Linked DNA regions of Homo sapiens: region 1 is linked to region 2. Evidence: promoter capture Hi-C in human tissues and cell types (Jung and others, 2019). All regions are on one chromosome and are shown on one strand. Each heading gives the region's core, a stretch centred on a gene start or on the middle of the fragment in contact. The rest is flanking DNA. Distances are from core to core; before and after follow the strand shown.

The links. The method cuts DNA at HindIII sites, captures the fragments that hold promoters and counts their contacts. A contact is called where the count stands out against the background at its distance.
Region 1: a fragment that was not itself captured here is called in contact with the fragment with the promoter of RBM24 in region 2 in 3 of the 25 tissues and cell types used here (hippocampus, mesendoderm cells and thymus).

The regions. Positions count from the first base shown.
Region 1 is chr6:17,346,412-17,353,970 of GRCh38, reverse strand. No RefSeq gene overlaps it. Among named protein-coding and RNA genes, the nearest start is that of CAP2, 43 kb to the left of the region's middle. The HindIII fragment of the contact is 4,376 bases long and covers 2,868-7,243 here.
Region 2 is chr6:17,276,692-17,283,731 of GRCh38, reverse strand. It overlaps RBM24 (RNA binding motif protein 24), which reads right to left and starts at 2,371. Exons shown (of 4, transcript NM_001143942.2): 1 at 1,983-2,371; 2 at 804-927. The coding sequence starts at 2,150. The HindIII fragment of the contact is 10,579 bases long and covers 1-7,040 here.

The sequences.
Region 1 (7,559 bases), core at 3,806-6,305, 68 kb before region 2:
CAATTTCATGTTTGCAGGGAAGTTTGTCACATTTGCAGGGGAATTTGGTCTGTCTACCTTTTAAAAATCTTTGCAGAGGTTGTTGGAATGGGTGTGGTAGGGTGGAATAGGAGTGGCTGTCTTGATCGATTCTGTCAATTTTTAAATCTTCTTTCCTAGTTTTTTTCACAGCATTGCTAATGCTGGCTACTAAAAGCATTTTTCATTCCTTATGCCTAGCAGCTGATCTACTTTGGGAATAGACAACTGAGTTGCAGCAACAGAGAGGCATCAAAGCCTACCAAAGGTTGGCATGGAGTCTTGAGCCAGAACAAGGTTGGATTCTGACTTTCACTAGCAGTGTGACCAGTGACAAGTTACTTCACTCTATCCTCGGTGTTCTCATCTGTATAACAGGGATGATAATATTAAAACCTACCTCAATGGGTTATTTTAGAGATTAAATGAGCGCACTTTTATAAAGTGCTTAGAACACAGCTTGGCATTTAGTATGTGCCTTATAAGTATGCTTTGATCAGTTAAGTTAAAATAATTGCTTTTCATTGTGAACATTTGGAAAAGAGCTAAATATCCATCAGTAGGAATCTGGTTAAATCAAATATAGTACTACATTTGTACAGGAGTATATAATGCACATATTAAAAAGAATGTGACAAGTTGCCCTAATATGTAAAGTTGTCCAAAAAATATACACATACATATACATATGTGCATAGAGAATTAGGTGTGGAGAGCATGCAGGTAACTATTATCTACAATTGTTTCTGAGAGGCACAAAGAGACTCAAAAGGTCGGGAGGCTCCCTTTTTGTTATGCCTTTTACTTTTACTAAAAAAAAATGACCCAAATTTTAGTTACTTTTAAAAAATCCAGTTAGGCTGGGCACCTGTAATCCCAGCACTTTGGGAGGCCAAGGTGGGCCAAGAGATCAAGACCATCCTGGCCAACATGGTGAAACCCCCGTCTCTACTAAAAATACAAAAATTAGCTGGGTGTGGCGGTGGGCGCCTGTAGTCCCAGCTACTTGGGAGGCTGAGGCAGGAGAATCGCTTGAACCCGGGAGGCAGAGGTTGCAGTGAGCCGAGATCACACCATTGCACTCCAGCCTGGTGACACAGCAAGACTCCATCAAACAAAAAAAAAAATCCAGTTAATTATGATTTTTGTTAGGGAAAAAAGAATAATTGAGAAAGATGAAGGACATAAACTGAATTTTGACACCTAAAAGAATAAAGACAAATAAGGCTACATAAGGTGGCTCACACCTATAATCCCAGCACTTTGGGAGGCTGAGGCAGGAGGATTGCTTGAGATCAACAGTATGAGAATAGCCTGAACAACCTAGTGAGACCACCATCTCTGGAAAAAGTTTAAATAAATAAAATTAGCTGGACTTGGTGGCATGTGCCTGCAGTCCCAGGGAGGCTGAGGTGGGCAGATCACTTGAGCCCAGGAGTTTGAAGCTGCAGTGAGTCATGATGACACCACTGCATTCCAGCCTGGACAACAGAGTGAGATCCTGTCTCAGCAATTTTTTATAAAAGAATAAAGAGATATATGAGATTCTGAACTGCTTTGCTGGTATCTTTTGCATTAAACACAACTTTAATGTTTCTTTGGGAACTAAAAGCTAGCCCTGGAAATCCTTAACCTTCATCCTCTTCTCCAAGGCATGACTTTGGATTATGATATAGACAATAACTCACTATAATTGAGGCACATTTTATTACTTATAGATATGAAATTGAATATGCTTTGCCTTACCTGTCCCCACCTTGGGAGATTTTGTTCATTTTGAGGGAGGTGGATGCACGGTAAGGGGATAACAATAGAACCAGAAAATGAGTTGCATCAAGGAAAACACGGAAGACTAGTGATTCCTTATAAACTAGTAGCCTGGTTGTCCCAAATATTTTTCCTATCAATTTACTGTAATGCATGTAATTCCCAACATTATTCACTACTTAGGGTTAAGATATAAACTTTGTGGACAAAGATTATAATAAAGACAAAATTGGGCCGAGCGCGGTGGCTCACGCCTGTAATCCCAGCACTTTGGGAGGCCCAGGCAGACAGATCACGAGGTCAGGAGTTCGAGACCCAGCCTGGCCAACATGGTGAAACCCCGTCTCCACTAAAAATACAAAAATTAGCTGGGCGCAGTGGCATGCACCTATAGTCCCAGCTACTTGGGAGGATGAGGCAGGAGAATTGCTTGAACCCAGGAGGTGGAGCTTGCAGCGAGCCGAGATCGCACCACTGCACTCCAGCCTGGGTGGCAGAGTGAGACTCCATCTCAAAAAAAAAGAAAAAAGAAAAAAGTATTATGCATAGAAGGCAAAAGCTGAAAAACTGAAGTGGTTGAGGATTAGGTAGCTACAGTGGGTGTGTACCTCAGAGATGAAATCCATCAGTGAAAAAGAAATTTACATGGTTAAGTGTGGATCCTGGCTCTGATGCTATTACAGTATATATTCACTTTGTGAGGTAGTTCACATTTCTGAGTCTCATTTTCTTACTCTGCAAAATGAGGATACTTGAATGTATGATAATACCAAAAAAAAGAAGTTTTGCTGCATATACCCAGAGCCTAGAATAGCACCTGACATATAATAAGTACTCACTAGATCTTTGTTTAAAAAAACACAAATTAATTAAATGAGGTGATATAAAGATAACTGAATGCAAGAGGTAGCCAATATATTTTATTTCTCTTTTTCTGGTTCCTGCAAGGTATTTGATAAGGTTCTTCATAGTTTGTTCCTCATGAAGTAGAGGATTATGGGCTAGACATAAGGATGAGTAACCGATTCAATGGCAATAATCAAGGGGTAGATTAATGGATCACTAGCATTAAGTTTCAAGGCTTAGCATAAGACTATCCTTGTTATCTACTTAAATTTTTTTGTCATCTACTTGGGTAAATGTATAAAAGGTGTGGCACATCATATATTTGCAAGACACCAAGCTGAAAGAAAGGATATATGTAGGAAAGAATCTAGAGATTTTGATATATTGATACGAGGGACAGAATTAAATAGAATGGAATTTAGCAGGATAAATTTAAGGTCTTGTTTTGGGTCCAGAAAAATCCCAAAGTGTATGAACACGGTGGAGGAGACTATGTTTAAGTGACAGAGGTTTTCATCTTCAATAAACCCAATACCTATCAACTTTAGAGATTGTTTGTATCAAGCAGGTCATGCAATCTTGAGTTGCATTCATAAGAGAATGGTATTCTTCAAGTTAGGACATGGTCCCAATTCACTCTGTCATTTCTGGAAGGTTGCATTCTACTTCCAGAGTCCTGGTTCAAAAACAACACACAAAAATGAATTTGAGTTGAGAGATGACTGATCAGAGTAGTGAAGGGACTTGACACTATGTATGAGGTTTGATTGAAGAAATTGGGAAAATTTAGCCTGAATGAAAAACTTAGATGAGGATAACATATTGCTAACCTGTCTTATGGGAAGGGTATTACATTTGATCTACAAGGCACCAAGAGATAAACTATGATTGTCTGGGAGAATTAATAGACAGATTTTGTCCCATTATAAGGAATAACTGTTATGAGTAAAAACTGTCCAAAGATGGAATAAGCAATAGTGATTTTCTTCACTGAAAACATAATGGATGTCCTTTTAAAAAATCAGAAAACAAAAAAATGTTGAAATAGGCACATGGTTAATAGTTTGAAACATCATCATCTGTTAAAATTCGAGTATGCTAGAACTAAAATTGGCAGATGTCCATGCCGAGGTTGGCCCATAACTCCACAGTGAAGTTAACTACAGGATGGCACTTAGATTAATATGTAAGGCCTCTTCTGGCCGGGCACGGTGGCTCACCCCTGTAATCCCAGCACTTTGGGAGGCCAAAGCGGGCAGATCACGAGGTCAGGAGTTCGAGACCAGCCTGGCCAACATGGTGAAACCCCATCTTTACTAAAAATACAAGAATTAGCCAGGCGTGGTAGTGGGCACCTGTAATCTCAGCTACTTGGGAGGCTGAGGCAGGAAAATCACTTGAACTCGGGAGGCGGAGGTTGCAGTGAGCCAAGATCGCGCAACCGCACTCCAGCCTGGGCGAAAGAGCAATACTCCATCTCAAAAAAAAGTAAGGCCTTTTCCAATACATGTAAGACCTCTTTCAAATCTGGGAGCCTATGAATTCTAAATAATAAATGCGGGAAATATAGATTCTATTGAGATTGTAGCTCAGTTACTGACCTTGGTTCTAGGCCTCCCATGAATACGTGAGTATTAGTGTGATTCTTGGACTCTGTAAGGTTCCATTCACAGCTGGTTAACTAGAAATGGAAAGCTGATTCAGTTGCCAAGCAACTCAGATTTGGATAAAGATGCCACCCTGTTTTAGTGTACCACATAAGCAGATAAACAAACATTCTTTTAACTATGACTCAATCTTCCCTTGTGGGTACACTTATAAAATGAATCAAAGCACCAAGGCAGATATTTAGGTAATTCAGGGTAAAATTTTCTATAGATAAGTAATCTGATCATTTAAAAGCCCCAAATAGCTGACCCACGTGAATAATTTCCTCTATTCTACATCTCAGTGTGTGAGCAGGACAAAGTCTCAGCTGTGCACATTTATCCTTGAGAAAGTGATATATGGTGGAGCACCAGAGACAGACAAAGAAGACCACAGAACTAGTGGTAAGTGTGCAAATGTTTCTTCTATAATTTGATCACCTCCACAATGGAGTTGATTTGTGAGTTCAGATGTCTTTTTTTTTTTTTTTTTTTTGAGACGAGTCTCACTCTGTCACCCCCGCTGGAGTGCACTGGTGTGATCATAGCTTACTGCAGCTTTGACCTCCCAGGCTAAAGCGATCCTCCCTCCTCAGCCTCCTGAGTCGCTGGGGCCATGGGTGTGTGCCAGCATGCCCAGCTAATTTTTTAATTTTTTTAGAGACTGAGTCTCACTGTGTTGCCTAGGCTGGTCTCAAACTCCTGGCTTCAAGCAATCCTCCTGCCTCGGCCTCCCAAAGTGCTGAGATTAGAGGCATGAGCCCCCGTGCCAGGCCAAGATGTCTTTTTTTTTTGAGACAGAGTCTCGCTCTGTCACCCAGGCTGGAGTGCAGTGGCACGATCTCCACTCACTGTAAGCTCTGCCTCCCGGGTTCACACCATTCTCCCGCCTCAGCCTCCCAAGTAGCTGGGACTACAGGCATGTGCCACAATGCCCAGCTAATTTTTGTATTTTTAGTAGAGATGGGGTTTCACTATGTTGACCAGGCTGGTCTTGAACTCCTGACCTCGTCATCCGCCTACCTCAGCCTCTCAAAGTGCTGTGATTATAGGCATGAGCCACCGCACCTGGCCCAAGATGTCTTTTAAAAATAATCTTGGACCTGCCCGGCATGGTTGCTCACGCCTGTTATCCCAGCACTATGGGAGGCCAAGGCGGGTGGATCACAACGTCAGGAGATTGAGACCATCCTGGCTAACACAGTGAAACCCCGTCTCTACTAAAAATATAAAATATTAGCCAGGCGTGGTAGCAAGCACCTACATTCCCAGCTACTCGGGAGGCTGAGGCAGTAGAATCCCTTGAATCCGGGAGGTGGAGGTTGCAGTGAGTCGAGATCCCACCACTGCACTCTAGCCTGGGCAACAGAGGGAGACTCCGTCTCAAAAAAAAAAAAATAATAATGTTCTTGACATAATGTTTATTCACTGTTTCCCAACTTTGTGGGTATTAAAAATAATGTCACACTAAATATACACAATATATATATCCAACCAACATACCTGACATGATGCAAATGAATCTTCCGAATACAACTATTATTATTGTGATGCTTAAAAGCTTAAGCCAAAAAAAAAAAGTTTTCATGAGACAGTGGTGATGAAATATTGATATTTATCTATTTAATTTTAGCAAATCATTAAACTAGAAACTTTTTGCTTTTTTGTTAATTTTTTCTTTATTTATTTTTATGTTTTATTTTCAGAGACAGGGTCTCAGTTTGTTGTCCAGTCTAGAGTACAGTGGCAAGAACATAGTTCATTGTAGCCTCGAACGACTGGGCTCAAGCAATCCTCCTGCCTCAGGCTCCCAAGTAGCTGGGACTACAGGCACGCACCACTGCACTAAGCTAATTAAAAAAATATATATTTCGGCCGGGCGCGTTGGCTCATGCCTGTAATCCCAGCACTTTGGGAGGCCAAAGCAGGCTGATCACGAGGTCAAGAGATCAAGGCCATCCTGGCCAACATGGTAAAACCCCGTCTCTACTAAAAATACAAAAAGTTAGCTGGGTGTGGTGGCAGGCACCTGTAGTCCTAGCTACCCAGGAGGTTGAGGCAGGAGAATTGCTTGAACCTGGGAGGTGGGGGTTGCAGTGAGCCGAGATTGCACCACTGCACTCCAGCCTGGCAACAGAGCGAGACTCCGTCTCAAAAAAAAAAAAAAAATCAAAACTTCTTTCAACAATTCACTTACGTGCTTGCATTTAGAAGATGGTGAAGCTTCAAAATAATAAAAAGTGTATTTCAATTTTTTTGATTAAAAATAACATGTATTCTTTCTATAATGAAGAGAATCATCATTATTTATAATAAAAAAGAATTATGAAGTGTCCAATTATTCTAAGTGGAGGGCATGGCACTTGCTTAAACCATGCTAAAGAAGCCCTGGTTTGTGCCCTCATAGTGGGAGATGAGAAGTGAGGATGGAGTGAAAACCGAGTGCTGAGTCTGAAGGCTCTGTATTAGTCGTCTGTTTTATAGACAGAAGAGCTGGAAGCCACATCCCAATCACAGCTGAGGAGCCTGCAGTGATTGCAGATACAACCTTCTTTCCATCTCCCTACTCCACACACCCTACTGAGCCACCCCAACCCCACTCCCCTAACCTATGCTTCACTCTTGTGATTTCTAAGGGGTTTGTGTTGCCAGCAGCCCTGGAAGCCACCAGATCTGAGAGGCACAAGAGGAAGGGTGTTGATGGAAGTTTTATCTTAGCCTTGAAGGACAAATTGTTTGAGGGAGAAAAACTAGGCTGGATAAACATAAGGAAAATCAAATTCACTGAAGTCCACCTGGAGAATAGTACATTCTCCTCCCCCTAAAACGCACATGTTAGGGGCTCTATTTTACTATGTACCTTGTCATAATTCTAGAGGATGGGTATTACTATCATCCTTTTTACAGATAAAGAAATTGAGATGCAAATGGGTAAATAGCTGAGTCAAAATTTGTTTTCTCAGTCTTCTGAACATAAAGCTATCACTTTGCCTTCTGCTAAAGATTGTTTAGAGAAGACAGAATGAACAAGAGGAGAGGCTTCATTTAATTTAAATCACCACCCTCCCTACCTTTCTCTCCCTTAGATGGGCAGAGTTGACATCTACCTAAATCAGGGCCCTTCACCTTTCTCATTCCTCTTGCAGGTTCCTAAGATCATGAGCTCTTTAGGGAAAGGTCGTATCGGAGTCCTTTTTGTATCCCTAAGATCTAGCATAGTGCCTCACATCCAGCAGAGGTAGGGAATGAAGCCTATGGGGAAAAGCATATTTCCATACTATC
Region 2 (7,040 bases), core at 1,122-3,621:
AGGTTTACCATTTTGGGCCAGGCGCGGTGGCTCACGCCTGTAATCCCAGCACTTTAGGAGGCCAAGGCGGGTGGATCACCTGAGGTCAGGAGTTCAAGACCAGCCTGACCAACACAGTGAAACCCCGTCTCTACTAAAAATACAAAATTAGCTGGGTGTGGTGACACATTCCTGTAATCCCAGCTACTTGGGAGGCTGAGGCAGGACAATCACTTGAACCCAGGAGGCGGAGGTTGCAGTGAGCCTAGATCGCGTCATTGCACTCCAGCCTGGGCAACAAGAACGAAACTCCATCTCAAAAAAAAACAAAACCTTTACCATTTGGACATCGCCCCTACCCCTTAATGCTTCCCTTGGGTCTGTGTTCAAGTCAGACTGCCTGCTCTGAGCACAGTGCAACTGGTGCTAAAAGGAGAGACACCACTAAGTAGGGAAGTATATTAGCTGAAGTCGACAAATTTGGCCTATATAATCCACATGTGAATTATCTACAGGTGGCTAAAAATTGGAAAATTGAGAGCAGACTACAAATGTATGCCATATAGGAAACAGGTGAGACATGACTAACTCTTCTTCCTGCACGACCCCCAAGATCCATTTTTGCACACAGGTACATTTCAAGCCTTGAGAGGAGTATTTACAACTCTCATTTATGTTTAATGCCTTGGTAGAATAACAAGCCATGGTTCAAGTTTACTAAACACATCTACAGAAAGAGACAATGTCTTCTAAATTAGAGAATCATCCCACCCATAAATGGGGGGTTCTTGGAGAGGGGGGTAGGGGAGACAGACATTTCTCACCTGGTTGCATGATCCTTGGTTTTGCTCCTAAGTATGCCAGGTTCACGTTGGCCTTTCTGCCATCAATGATGGGATTGGGATCCTTGCAGGCCCTTTCGGCAGCAGCCCGGTCAGCCATGGTGACCTTAGCAACAGACACACACAGACATACATACATAACCTCTAAATTAACCCATGAAGGAAATCAAGAATCACAATGGAGAAGTCATTCATGATAAAACTGAGATCAAACTTTTTTTCTATTCTTTGCTTCTTTTGGCTGGACCCTCCTCCTTGATCTCCCATTTTTAACAGGCGGGCGGGGGCGTGGGGGGGGGGGGCGGGTAGACGAAGGAAAAAAGAAAGAAACCCTCTAACCCTGCCTCCCCCCACCCCACCGCCGAAATCTTAAGGGTGTTAGTAGGGCCTAGCCGAGATTTGGAAGCCTAAATTCTTGGAACTCTAGATCCTCCTTCCCCCGAATCCCCCGCCCCCCAGGTCCCTACTCAGCCTCAGAGGCACCGTTTGCTTTAAAGAAAGTCCAGCCTTACATCCGCCCAACGCTCCCAACCTCGAAAACACTCCCCAACGACAATAGCTATTGTCCTACTCTGGGGCTCCCTGCTCTTCGGCAGCTGAATTTGCACGCTTAAATCTCTAGGAAGGAAGCTTAATATGCTCTGTTTCAGTTCGGCAAAGAGCCCTAGGATCATGATTTAAAAGAACCTACCTTTGCAGTTAAAAGGCGGGGGGATGACACAAGGGCAACAGCCCCAGACCTCGTGGGGTGTCCCCTCCCTGCCCCAGCCAAAACACCAGAACACACGCATTTTTACAAAGCAACAGCGCGCTTAACAACCGGCATCCAGCCCGGGAATGCAATTGTTCAGGGTTGCGGCCCCTCCCTCGCAACCCTCCGCACCCCAAATCCCGCCGTCATTACAGGTCTCTCCTTTCACCCCTGCTCTGCCCTGCCCGGCCCCCGACCTCGCACAGCGCTGGGTCTTCTCCGAACCCCGCGAGGCTGGCGCCGACCCTCTCCCCTAGCAAAGTTTCAGTTCACCCCGGAGCGAAGGGGCAGCGCCGCTCTACCCGCGGGGCTCCTCACGGGTCACGCCGAGCCCCTCACTCCAAGCTCCCGATCCCCGGGGTCAGCCGCCACTCCGTCCCTCCCCGTCACCCCCAGTCCGTGCAACTTACAAATCCATAGCCCCGGGACTTGCCCGTCTGCCGGTCGGTGATGACCACCGCCTCCTCGATCTCGCCGAAGACCTCGAAGTACTTGCGCAGGCTGGCGTCGGTGGTGTGGTAGGGCAGCCCCCCGACGAAGATCTTGGTGTACGTCGTGTCCTTCTGGGTCGTGTGCATCTTCGCACCCGCCCCGCGGCTCGGGCTCCGGCTGCGGCTGCGGCTCGGGCAGCGGCTGCGCCTCCTCCTCCGGCTCCGCGTCTCCCGCACCCTTTCGCGGCCGCCGGGGGCCAAGGGCGAGCCCGGGGGCGAGGGCGGCGGCGCGGCGGGGGCGAGCGGCCGGGGGCGGCCGAGAGCGCCGGGCGCGCGGCTTCCGAAGTCGCCAGCGGCCCTGGAGACTTGACTTCGCTCTCTCCTCCCGCCCCCCCTGCCGGTCACCGTACAAATTCTCCGGATCGTCTGGATTAGAATCGGGTTCTATAGAATGTGCAAGCGGTTTCCACTCACCCGGCGGGGAGGCCAAAAATGAAAAGAGAGGGTAGTTCTCAAGCGAAGAAGCGGGTGCTTTAGAGGTAGATTTTTCTTCCTTAGGAATCAGGTGCCTTGGGTGGGGTGTGGGGAGGGTCCGCGGGAAGAGCGTCCGAGCGCCGAAGCGGGCGGGGGGCGCGGCGGCGGGGCCAGGGGCGAGGAACTCCGCGCAGCTTCGGCTCTGGTCTGTCCCTCCCGCCGTGGGATCTGGAAGACGAGTGCCGAGGACAGCTCTCCACCTCTCTGCTCCCTTCCCCCGCGGGCCGGGGGTCGACGCCCGGCTGGGGAGGGGGGCGGGCCGGACGCCTGCGATTGGCCGCGGCAGCACCTGGGGCGCCGGGCGCCGCCGCCCCCCAGCTGTTGGGAACAGCTGCTTCTCTCCCCGCGCGGCGCGGCGCTGGGGCTCGGGGCTCCCGCTCTGTAGCCGGCGATGGGGTAGGGCTGGAGACGCCTGTAGGCGGCCTGGCTCTCGGCGTCGCCTGCTCTAACCAGTCAAAGTCTTAGGGACCCGGCGCAGCACCAGCCGGGACCCAGGGTGCGGGGACTGTGCCCAAGGAGGAAGCTGCGTTGCTTTCCAGAGGGGACGACGCGAGCTTTTTGGGTTAGGCCTCGGTGACAGGGCCGGCGACCTGGACTGGCGAACTGGGGTCCCCAGAGGCCTGGGGCGATTCGCTGAGAGGCCAATCCCCTCCCGGGCGCGGGGGGTCAAGGAGCTCGGCCGAACGAAACCCAAGCTGGACACCCTGGGGTCTGAAGAGTGAGAAGGAGGGCCCCAACTTTCTTTGGCCCCAAAAAGCCAGTGCGGGGAAGTATCAGAGAGGTAGAGCCAGAAGGAAAAGAAAGATCTAGCGCTTGGGTGTAGTTGGGAAAACCATTAGCTTTAATTGCTACCGCCCAGCCAAACCAAGTAACCGGAGATACCTATGTCCATCAGGCACCGCCTTCTATTTCAGAGGACCATAAGTTAGTATTTTAGCCCCCACAGTCACCAAATTTGTCTTTCCTCCCTAACTTAGTTATTCAGGAAGATTGGTACAGATGTCTTAGCATAAGTCGTTCTTTTTTTTTTTTTTTCCCTAAACAAAGAATTAATCTATTTCTTTCTCTTTGAATTACAAGAATGTTTAGTGGCTTGACCTCATCTGTTTTTATCTGGATGTAAATGTAAAAGGTATAATTTTTGAAATCAACTTATTGCATAACCAGTGGTTTCTACCAGCAGACCTGAAAGCATTTGTAGAACATAGGGCACCCCATATATATTTATTACTTTACATCAGCTTTTTGCAACTTCTTTTAATTGAGAATTCATTCAATTAGGCCTTAAAATCAATCAGTCATACTTGAGGTTTGGATGAAAATATTTGATGTGAGCAGAAGGTTTCATCCACCATTGTTGGTGCACAATTGCCTTTTAAGTCCTTTCTACGGGAGTCTACAGTCCCTACATTAATCGCCCCTGAGCCGCACCATTTATTCCATTAAAACAATTCAGTATGTTAACCGTTAGAGAGGTGCATACTCTGTTTCTCTCCAGGACACCTTTGCAGTCAACCCAAGAGGGTGAGAAATGTTGCATTTGCAAAGGCTAATGGGAATGCAAATATTCTTGTGCAAAACATTAAATTCCGTTTTTCATCTTGCTGACTTCCTCATGAGGTTGACTTTTTGACGTCACTGGTTTCTTTAAGTTTGAACCCCCAGTGGGAGATATAGAGAAATCAGAAATCTATTAAAGTTAAAAACATTTTTTTCACCCGATTAAAAAAATAATAAAGAATTTTACAGACAGATGAGAGCCAGAAAGTGAAATTGTAAACACCCTCTCTTCATTACTTAAGTTAAAGGACAGGTTCAAAAACGACTCTCTGTGCTGGTATGATGAAAGATAATTTTTAAAAGTTAGAAAAACAAAGCAGGCGGGGAAAGAGAAGAGGCGTGTTTTTTAATATTCAACATCCATCTTGTGTCATTTAAGAATTACTGTACGTAGATGAGGCTCAGGCAAAACCCTTTTGTGAAGGGAAGCTGCTTAGAGAGAAGCCTTAGAAGGGCGCCTTTGGCTGTCTCGCCTTTCTTCCTACCTGGATTGGGAGCCCACCCTGGAGAGGACTGTGATAATATCAGGGAAGGAGGGTGTCTGGGAGTGTAGCCAGCAGCTAGGATGTTCACTAGGTAAAGTGGTGAGATCTACAAGGAAATTCTGATCCCGGGTTGGAATACTTGTGTCCTAGAACTCAGCTTCTGGAAATAAGACGCCTCCTTGTCATTGTCCCTCCCATCCCGTGCAACCCCTGACTGCAGTGTTTTTATTCTTTCAAGGGAACAGTAAATACTTGATCACTTTGCCTGAAACTTTGCCTGGACGGTCCCTAATTTTGAATTCCAGGGATAATTAAAACATTACTAATACACTGGTATTACGTGAGTCACTGAGAACAAAGGTTAAGAGGGATGGAGATTCCTTATTTTCCAAACGTATTTAAACGGAAGCCAGAATTCATACCCAGTTCATCTCAACAAACTTTCATCAAGACCCCCTTCCCTTCGCCCAGGCAAGCACTGTGGTAGGCATCATTGCTGCCCCTGTGGGTTTTGTTTTACATTTGCACCAAGGTGGACACAGTTAAAATGGCCAGATCCTCATTCTTGGTGGATTTACGAATCTGAGCCATCAAATCATGTAGCCTTGGGGCCATAAAGTTTTTCTGAATTCAAGGTTTCAAGGTTAAGTACCGAATATTTCTGTACAATTACTCATTACAAATTCAGGTTTGAAAAACAATGCTTGGATAATCCTTTTGCTTTGTCAGCTGCTTTTGGCAGAGAATACTTGTATATTCACAGGCCTTGTGCAATATAATGTGTGCTTCTTTGGAAAGAAAGAACCATAAAATACTGTAAAAGTTATAAATAGGTTCCACAAGGTTGTCATCTCCAAATTAGTACATATGGATGGGCCTGAAGTTTTGGTTCCTACTCCATGGCAAGATCAATATTATTTTATTACTTACTGTAAATTATTGTCCACTTTGTTCAAAATCTTTATCTGACTATAAAGGCCAGAACCAAACTCACAAGTTTCACATTCATGTATAACTGTCTTCTCTTCTCCCCTTGCCTCTTAAATTAATCATGGAAATCAACTTCAGGCTCACAGCCTTTTAGAATAATTTTGAAAAAAGAGAGAAATATTTCATGAAGATTGAGAAGCACTCTTTTGGGCTTTGTACCCCAGAGATAATATTGCTTTGGACAATAAGCCACCTGAGAGCAGGGTGACACTCTTAGGTGTCACTGGATCTCCTGCTGGTTATTAAAACCCTTCAGAGGGTTCTACATATACTTGGCACTAAAGAAATATTTACTGAAAAAAAATTGATGTTTTAAAGATGCCTGCCTTCAAGCTTGATGGGAAGAAATGCATTCTTGATTAGAATTGACGACCTATAAAGTGGGCACTTTTTTTTTTTTTTTGAGGCTGGGCACTTTTTTGTTTTTTTTTTTTAAACAAAAATATGGCTTCAGTGAAGTCTTTTGTTTTGGTGGTTTGGAAATATTTTATCTTCTTTTGAGTATCTGTGTGAGCATTTTGATGTAAAACCAACAGGTTTTCTGGCCTTTTGAGAAGTCCCGTCATCAGCTGTATTTCTGTTTCTTTGGGTGGGTTGCTAATTCTCTCTCAGTAACAGATAACAAATGTGTGTGATAGGTTATGCTGCTATTTTAGTGTGCAGAAGAATTGGCAGTCAAAAACCTAGTCAGTTCAGCTCAGACTCACCTCTGGGGGAATTCTATTCATGTTGCATTAAACCACAGCTAAGCTGGTAAATAAAGTGAAATGCAAATTTGTGCCTGTTATTCAGTCATTAAAGTCATAATGTCTCTTTTACACTGAAAATCCAAAAAACAGAAAGCAGAGCAGGATTATTTGAGGGACAGGCAAGGGCAAAAATCAAAGTGTCGAGGGACAAAAATGTTCATTGCCAGTGTCACCGTGCCAGTAATTTCACCCTGCCTGTGTAGAAGTAGCTTTAAGTGTATGCACACTTTAATTTCTATTATGTAAACCCGAAAGGCAAGAAAGAGAATGCAAACATTTTAAACCCACTGTGTGCTTGTTCACATTTTAAACTCAGGGTGTCCTTTGGTTTTAAGTCTTTTAAACAGTGAGCTTCTGAGCTGCCAAGTTATTTTTAGGGAACTGATGATACTCTCCAAATGTATTGAATGACCTCTCTCTGGATGACAAATACATTCTAATGCTGTTGCTTGTGGGCTGGGCAGAGGGCACCGGGTGATGGAAATAGTCCTGGATCTCAAGACAGGAGACCTAGAGTCTAGTCCAGGCAGTTATTAACCAGCCCCAAGACCTTGTTTGGTTTATTTCATTAAAAAGGACAAATGTGGTTAGAAAAATACTCATGATCTTATCCTAGAATGGAGGATACTAGCGTGACCCTTTATTTAAAGATGTCTATAGAGGGTGACCTCTGACTTCAAAGATGGCTTAATGTTAATACTTGAGTGTTGCTTATTAAC